Linked DNA regions of Homo sapiens: region 2 is linked to region 1. Evidence: promoter capture Hi-C in 16 types of primary human blood cells and fetal thymus (Javierre and others, 2016). All regions are on one chromosome and are shown on one strand. Each heading gives the region's core, a stretch centred on a gene start or on the middle of the fragment in contact. The rest is flanking DNA. Distances are from core to core; before and after follow the strand shown.

Evidence for each region. Contacts are between HindIII fragments. The CHiCAGO score rates a contact against its expected background, and 5 or more counts as called.
Region 2: a contact is called between a fragment that was not itself captured here and the fragment with the promoter of SFR1 in region 1, in 5 of 17 cell types (total B cells, naive CD4 T cells, naive CD8 T cells and 2 more). The highest score is 6.7, in total B cells.

Annotation. Positions count from the first base shown.
Region 1 is chr10:104,119,900-104,123,883 of GRCh38, forward strand. It overlaps SFR1 (SWI5 dependent homologous recombination repair protein 1), which reads left to right and starts at 2,272. Exons shown (of 4, transcript NM_001002759.2): 1 at 2,272-2,297; 2 at 3,066-3,187; 3 at 3,815-3,984. The coding sequence starts at 2,285. RefSeq lists enhancers at 335-1,534, 1,018-1,117, 1,690-2,353, 1,748-1,797 and a silencer at 2,038-2,267. The HindIII fragment of the contact is 3,915 bases long and covers 201-3,984 here.
Region 2 is chr10:103,575,191-103,579,174 of GRCh38, forward strand. All of the region lies in intron 3 of NEURL1 (neuralized E3 ubiquitin protein ligase 1), which reads left to right. Among named protein-coding and RNA genes, the nearest start is that of NEURL1-AS1, 60 kb to the left of the region's middle. The HindIII fragment of the contact is 799 bases long and covers 1,293-2,091 here.

The DNA.
Region 1 (3,984 bases), core at 1,022-3,521:
AATGCATGAAAGCCAGAGATGTAGATCAACAAATGCACATTTCTGAAATACGGGTTTTTCTGAGTATATGTTCTGAAGTTCTTTGAAAATCTGGCCAAACAATCCCATTTTAAGATACCAGTTCACATAATAAGCAAGTCAGAACATTTGCAAGGCAAAATGTTGTTTTCCTTTCTGCAGCCAGGAAAAACACAGCTCTAAGCTTAGGTTGTAACGGTAAAAGGATTTGGGAGCTGCTGATTTTAGAGACTCATAAAAACAACTCGCCCTTATGCCGGGAGGTATAAAGAATATGCAGAGTCTGCACTGTGCTTCTAGTGTCAGGACAAATCATTCTGCTTTTTCTTTGAGATTAACTGATGCCAATGGATGAGTAAAGGGAGAAATAAATGTACAGACTGAGACCTGCAGCTTGGTGAGGTGAGTAACACCTTTATCACAAAATCATGAGTTCTCTCTTCCCCTTTGTAAATTCCTTGGGGTTAACTTATGTAATTTTAAAAAATTTTAGGAGTGAAATATGTATTATTAATCATATGTGAGGCTCTACATTTTCTGCTATTTATGGTTTATATTGTGTGGGATCTTACAGATCACAGCATCTTTTTAAAATATATGTGCTTTTTTGGGGGGTGGGAGATAAATCAAGGGGTGAAACTGAAGGTGATACATTCCCTTAAATCCATTAGGGAATGGTGAATACACTTGCATATATAAAATAACTACTGAGTGCTTCCTAGATACCTAGCTCTGTTCCAGCTGCCTCTCACCAGTTCTCATTTAATTCTCCAATCCCATATTAAGAGGTGAAGAAACTGAGGCACAGAATCACCTCATTAAGAAGCACATAAAGTATGGTGCCAGGATTTGAACCTAGACAATTTGACTGTAACGTGTACGCCCCTAATCATTCCCTTAGGTAGTCCTCAGGTTCTGTAATTATTATACCTGACTGCTTAAGACTCAGGTAACTCCCTTTTGGCCACTTCTAAGCCACTACTGTCAGATGTTATTAATAGTAAAGAGACGATATCAATGTTTAAAATGGCCATTCAATAAGAGGACTGAAAACACTGGCCCCTGGAAATTCCCAACTTCCACGTGACTCAGAAGTTACTCAACTCTTTCACTAAACCCAGTGCTCCACCCAATGTAGCTAACTTTGTCGTCGCGTAGCAACAGAACCTCGCCATACTGGAAGCGGGGCGCGGGGGGGGGATTTTCTCGACTGAGGATGCTGCTGCCCGGTAGCCAGCAAGGGCCCTGTCGGTCTCAAACGTGAATTTTGGACCGACACAATCTCATGTAGTGATTGTTCTGCTTCCTGTGTTGCGCCACAACAAATTTCCTTGGGCTACATTTTCCCTCAGATTTGAGTAAAAGATTTGAGGTCACGCTAAGGAGCCTGCATACTGAGGTACAGAAACGGTTTTTTGTTTACAACAACAACAAAAAACCTCGCGACGGGACCGCCGAGTTTGCGGCAGCCAAAAAAGCTAGCGATGAGCTCAGCTAAAGTGCCGGGACTCTCGGATAGATTTCTAACATGTTTGAAATGTGGACCCCAACGCTGGAACCCAACGCTGTTCTTTTGTGGTCTCTGGAACCACCACGCTGGAATAGGCTGGAACCCAACCAACGCTGTTCTTTTGTGGTCTCTGCCTCTGGGGAGTCCACAAGCTGTAAATCTAACATGCAGCCAGCCGTGCGGCTTCTGGCCGCCCCACGTCTGAGTAAAGCCTTCACTGTGACTAGCAGGGAGAGGAGACTGACTGGAGCCAGAGAATGGAGGCGGCGGGCTGGCGGGGGTGGGGAGAGGCACTTTCAGGCGCACTTCACAGACGCACAAAAACAAGGAAGCCTGAAGGGAAGGCGGTTGAAAATAAGGCAACAGAAGCCGCGAACGGAAGCGCGCCCCCCTCAGGATTGGTTTAACATTCCGAAGCTCAGCCTCGCCCGCCCCGAAGACCTGCTGCGGATCGCGGCCGCGCGCGCGCGCACTCACGCTGCTCTCGGGCGCTGGGCGGGGAGAGCCGCGCGCACCGGTTAATTCTGCCAATCATGCGTCTGGGCCTCCCATCGTGTGGGCCAAGCCCCGCCCCAACCACCCGCTGGCGGAGGCGCGCGCGCAGTCCCACCGCTCTGAGTCGCTGAGTGAAGCGGCGCCTCGCGCGTCAGGCAATCTGGCCAATTGCGCATCTTTTCCGCCTACCGCACGGCCCCGCCCCTGCCACAGGATCGATTTACGGCCGCAGGTGCGCGCGCTTTTTTGCTCTCGCTGGGAATGGCGGAGGGAGGTACCCTGCTGAGGGGAAGGGGGGATCCCTGACACCTGGGCTTCCCCGGGAGTCGGCTGTGGAGTCGAGTTGAGCTCCCTTTCCGGGTCTGGGGAACTCAACCTCACCTTATGCCTGGGGTCTCCGGGGAACTAGTGGGCTTTCTGCAACGGGGGGAAGGAGGGGACGACTCCCGCCCCTAGTTTACCCCTCAAAAGTTAATGCCTTTGTCGGAGGAAGCAATTTCAGTCCACTCTCCTTTTCAGTCCCTGTTGGCCGCTTAAACTAAAAGGCTACAGACGGGCTTAAATGCGTCTCCGCTGTGTTTCTTATGCCTCGGGCCGGCAGGGTAACGGGTTCTAGTCACAGCTTGTAGAGTTCAGGATGGGTGACATTCAGGTCCTATTGTTTTTGAGTCAAGGTTTCGGCTATAGCTTCTTGAATTATGAAGCTGTCATAATAAAGAATTCCTGATTATCTAAAGCTGTTATTCTTCCCTACTTCCAAGGCAGAATTTGAATATATTTTGGTGGATGAAACGAAAACAAGGAGAGTCTTGTGACTATGAGATACTAGCTGGTTGATGTATCATGAAAAACTTAGTGGTCCCTATGTGGGAAGGTAAATGGAAAACTGCAAAAAGAGCAAGAATGAATTACAAAGTGAAATTAGAAGAAATATCTGGCTTACTTGTGGATGCTTTGTACACCAATACAATATATTATTTGATAAAAGTCGACTATAGAGAGGTGTGGTTAATTCGATTATTTTATAATTTTTCTTTTTTAGAGAAAAACCAAGATTTCACTTTCAAGATGGAAAGTCCGTCAGACTCAGCTGTGGTTTTACCTAGCACTCCTCAGGCCTCTGCGAATCCATCATCTCCCTATACAAATAGTTCCCGAAAACAAGTATGAAAATCTTTGTTCTTCCAGTGGATCCATTATGTGTTTCTAAGTATTGTGGCAGTGGTGGTTTAAATTCTACGGAAGGTTGTTAATTAACATAATGTGTAGCATAAATAAGTAGACATTTTATTAAATAATTTTGTTTTTCTTCTAAGGTGACATATATGACACCCACCAGCCCCCTTCCATATTTTCCTCTTGAATGAATTCATTTCAGTTAGTTTCAGATTAGGTTATTACAATACTCCAGATGGAGAAAGTTTGCATCTGTGCAATATTATTATGAAGGTCTTTAGTGGCAGAGTCTAGGTCTTTTCCTTACTCTGTAATTCTGAAGCACCTGGAGTACTATCAGGCATGTGCTTGTTACTGAACAAATGTTCCTTGATTACTGGGATAAACTTCTCAACACTTTTGGAAAGGTGTTGATCTTGCTGAAGTAAAAAGGAAATAAAACAAATGGAGCTTCCAGAAATTAAAGTCATTTTGTGATGCCTTCTTTAGATGTGGAGACAGAAAGCCATCTAGTGGTGTCTAGCATAGAAATGGAAGGACTTTATTTCTGGTGATTTATTGACATTAAGAATGTTTTTCTTGATTCACATTTTTAATGTTTTGTGCTCTTTATAGCCTATGAGTGCAACACTTAGAGAAAGATTAAGGAAAACAAGATTTTCATTTAATTCCTCTTACAATGTGGTGAAACGTCTTAAAGTAGAGAGTGAAGAAAATGATCAGACCTTTTCAGAGAAACCAGCATCTTCCACAGAGGAAAACTGTTTGGAATTTCAAGAAAGTTT
Region 2 (3,984 bases), core at 442-2,941, 550 kb before region 1:
CACCTGCACCTTTACTGCACCTGTATCTTTCTGGGCTTTTCTCTCTCCCTTGACCTAGATCCTCTCACCCTTCTTGCTTTCCCTGGTCTTGGTGTCCTTCTCCCCGCTGCTGTCTCTCTTCTGAAGAAAGTCGCTGTCCATCTTGGTGGCTCTGAGGCTGGGCCAGTCTTTCCTGGGGTGACTGTCCCCCAAACCAATGTCTGATCTTTGGGGATTTTCTGCCAGGCCTGCCCCTGCCCCCTTTGTCTGAAGCCTGTGGTCAAAGCCCTCCCAATCTTACCTGCTCTGTGTTTGTTCCTTAGACCAGAGGCTTCCCAGGGTAGCTGGCACATAGTAGGTAAGCAGGTCAGGCCATGGATGGGTTGTGTCCCCAGACAGAGTGGAGGCAGGGGCTGGTGTCTCTCCCCAGTGGACGGTCCTCCCTGCCCTGGCCAGAATCCAAGCCCACAATGGTGCCCATGCCATGGCCCCAGCAGGCCCTCCTCCCTGTTATGGTGCCCATGCCACAGCCCCAGCAGGCCCTCCTCCCTGTTATGCTGGAGTTCTGCAGATCACCTCTTTCTTTGGGGCGCCCTGGCCCAAGCCCAGGCTGGTATCGTCAAGAATAACAGCTTCCTTCCTCCAGGGAGAAGGACCCGCCAGCAACTAAATAAACACAGGTTTTATGGGGTGATTAATACATGGAAAAAGAAGCTCCTATCCCAGTATCTCAAGGTCTCCTTGCTCCTCTCAGAAATGTCAATTCAGGAAGAGCAGCTGTGAGTCCCAGCAGGACTTGGCTGGCGGGCCAAGAGCCCACTTACAGGGTGCTCCAGAGCATCCCTTGGTGCCTACCACTGCCTAGGCACTAAGCGGGGGCAGGTGGGAGACAGAAGAATCAAAAACCCAGCCCCTCTCCTGGAATAATGTTTTCCCTGGGGGACACATCATATAACTGATGCAAGGTGGCCCAAGTTCAATTCTGCAATCAAGTGTGACCTGAAGAGTAAAACTGTGTGTATGTGTGGGAGGGGAGTGCAGCTAGAGAGCAATCCAGGAGGACTTCCTGTAGGAGACAAGTTTTAAGTCAGGAACTAAGTGAGGTGAAAAGAATGGATTGGTTGAGGAACAATTTAGGTCAGACAGGGGGGTGTCCACAGGTGCAGAGGTGGGGAATTGGCGGTCAGTAGGGGAGCAGATCCAGGAGGGGAAGGAATGAGGTAGAAAGGTAGTGGGTGACTTGTGGAGGTGAGGGGTGTGCACAGGTGTGGGTATGTGTATGCATCACAGGGGAGAGAGCCATGAGAGCTGAAAGCTTCCAGCAGCTTTTGTGCTGTCAAGTTGTTCAGTAAGAGGGACTGGCTGGTTGACAGTGGAGAAGTATGAGACCCAGAGATGGGGAGAGGCCTGCCCAAACTCTCCCAGCTGCTCATCAGCCAGGCCAGGCCTGGAACCCAGATCTCTCAGGCTGATCTGGGAGTAAGGTCAGAGGGAGGAGGCTATCAACACATCTAAATGGTGGGGCTGGGTCCGGGAGGGTTCTAGGAGGGGATGAGGTGGGGGCTCCCGAGGGCTTATGCATTCTATTCCATCCCTTGCCATGCACAGGTTCCCAGGTCTTGGTAAAAGACCCACGCCTGCCTACTGAGGAGAGAGCTGTATGGAGACTCTCAGGATGGGCTTCCAAGGGTCATGTGCTGCTGGGTGGGTTCTCCAGGCCCCCTGGAGATAGGGGCCTAGGTCAGGTCCCCTATCCAGGGTGTGCCTCAGCTTGGAGGTGCTGAGCATGAGTGATCCCCAGCCGAGGACCACACTGCCATCTGGGCCTTCTGCTTCCCAGGCTAAACCAATATTTACCCTCAGCTGTGGCTGCTAGGGGCCAAGAGGCAAATATTAGTTTAAGGAGCCTGAGCCAGCTGTTGGGCTGGGGGAAACAGCTGAGGCTGCCGATCATGATTTCTTCCTCTTTGATGATTTTCATTTCTTTTTGATTAAGAAAAAAATCTTGCTTTTCCTTCTGCTTCAGAGGGTTTTCTGGTGCTTCCTTTCTGCTTACCCCAAATTCTGCCAGCTATATCAGTGCCCCACACCAAACCCTCCCCTCCATTAGGAAGCTTTCCCAGACCTCCCTCATTCAAAATGACCCTTCCTCCTCCTGACCATCGGAAGCACTTGGAGACCTAAGTGGTATAAGCAGCTTTGAGTCATGTATTGTCCTGCTCTTTAAAGATCCAGCATATATCCTCTTTGTATATAAAGGAAGGTATTATTGTGCCCATTTTGTAGATAAGGAACAGAGGCTGAGAGAGGTCTGATAACCTGCCCAAGGTCACACAGCTGGCAGTTGGTGGAGCTGGGATTTGAACCCAGGAGCTTGGGCTACATTACCTTCCAGCTTCTCTAGATGTGAGTCCATCTGATCTCCCTATTAGGTCTGGATACCCGACAAGAGCGGGGACAGTGGCCCTCCTGTGCCTTCCAGAGTCGAGCTTACAAGAGCTCAAGGCATCAAGGATCAACTGCACATGTTGGGCACAGATAGGCCACCAGGGCCCCAGCAGTGCTGGTACAAGGAAGAGGGGCAGTGCAGCGCCCAGGATGCCAGATTCAGTGGGGAAGGTCGGTCTGCCTGCCTTATAGTTCCCCGGAGGCTCCCGAGGGCTTTGTCTGGTTCAGTTATTCCTGTGCACTCTAGTTTTCTACCACAATGAATATATATCAAGTTGAACCATATGTAATCACCAGTATTGGACTGTTTTTAACTTACAAGAAAGGCAATCTCATGTTTGCCCCTAGCATCTCTTGGGCCCAAGAGATTGTACTGGGGCCTTGGAGAGAGTGGTGGGGCTCAGGGTGGGGTGTATGTGGAGGGAGGAGCTCGGGCCTTGCAGTATTGGGGACAATGCCTTCATTTAAGATGCAGGAGACCCACTGAATCAAGGCTTGACTTGGCCACTCATTAGCTCTGGGCAGTTCTCAGCTTCTCTGTGCTTCAGCCTCCTCATTATTTGGGCATAATTATACACACCCCACTTACCTCACAGATGTGGAAAGGCATTTACACAAATGAGAAGGGCTTTTGTCTTTAGGTTAAAAAGGAATACCTAATTTAAAGACACCGCCCTCCACGGCCAAAAAAGCCAACCCCTCAAACCAGCTCTTCAACTAGAAGAGGGAGCCTTGAACCCAGGTCTCTGTATCGGGCTGAAAGGAAAACCATGCAATCGAAATTGCTCCTTGGAACAAGATCTGTGCTTCTCCAGCTGGGTTCCTTGGAACACTGGGGTTCCACAGAGGTGTCTTGGAGGCTGCAGAGAAGGCCAGAGAGAGGGTGAGGGGATAGGTGCTAGGTCCACCTCCTAGACTTCAGCCAGAACTTGGGGTTCTGTTGGACAAAAGGATTCCACTGCTTTTTAAAAAAGTTTGAGACCCACTAGACCAGATGATTCTATAAATCTATGAGATCCCGTGGCTTGAAGATTCTCTGAATCTTAAAGTCTGTGACTGTGAGTGATTTTAGGATGTTCTGCCCTTCCCTCTGTGAGCCCCAGAAAGCATGTTTGTTTCTCCTAAATTTCCCATGGTTGGGTTTAAAGGGAGAGGGTGGAGGTGGGTGCTGGGAGGGGTGGAGAACCCCCTTGCCTGTCTAAGCCAGGCACCCGCACTTCCCGGCTCCCTCCCATGCCCCGTGCCAGATGCGGACCAGCAGGAGGATGTTTGTGGAGACAGTAAAGGGCTGGCAGCGCCTCCCAAACAGGGGCCAGCAGATACCTGCTAGCAAGCCAGGCGGCTGCAGGCTGACCTGTGGTTACAGATTAGCCAGTGCTCCGGATGTGAGAACGTCAACAAATGGGACTCTCAGGCTGACGGCAAGCTCTGCCTCAAAGGAGGCCCCGGCCTGCCCTGAGGTCCCCCACGCCCAGGTCCTGCCTTGGTTACCCTGCACTGCTGGCAGCGTATGGCAGGGCCGGGTGGCTTTCTGGGCAACAGCAAGCCCTGGGGCCC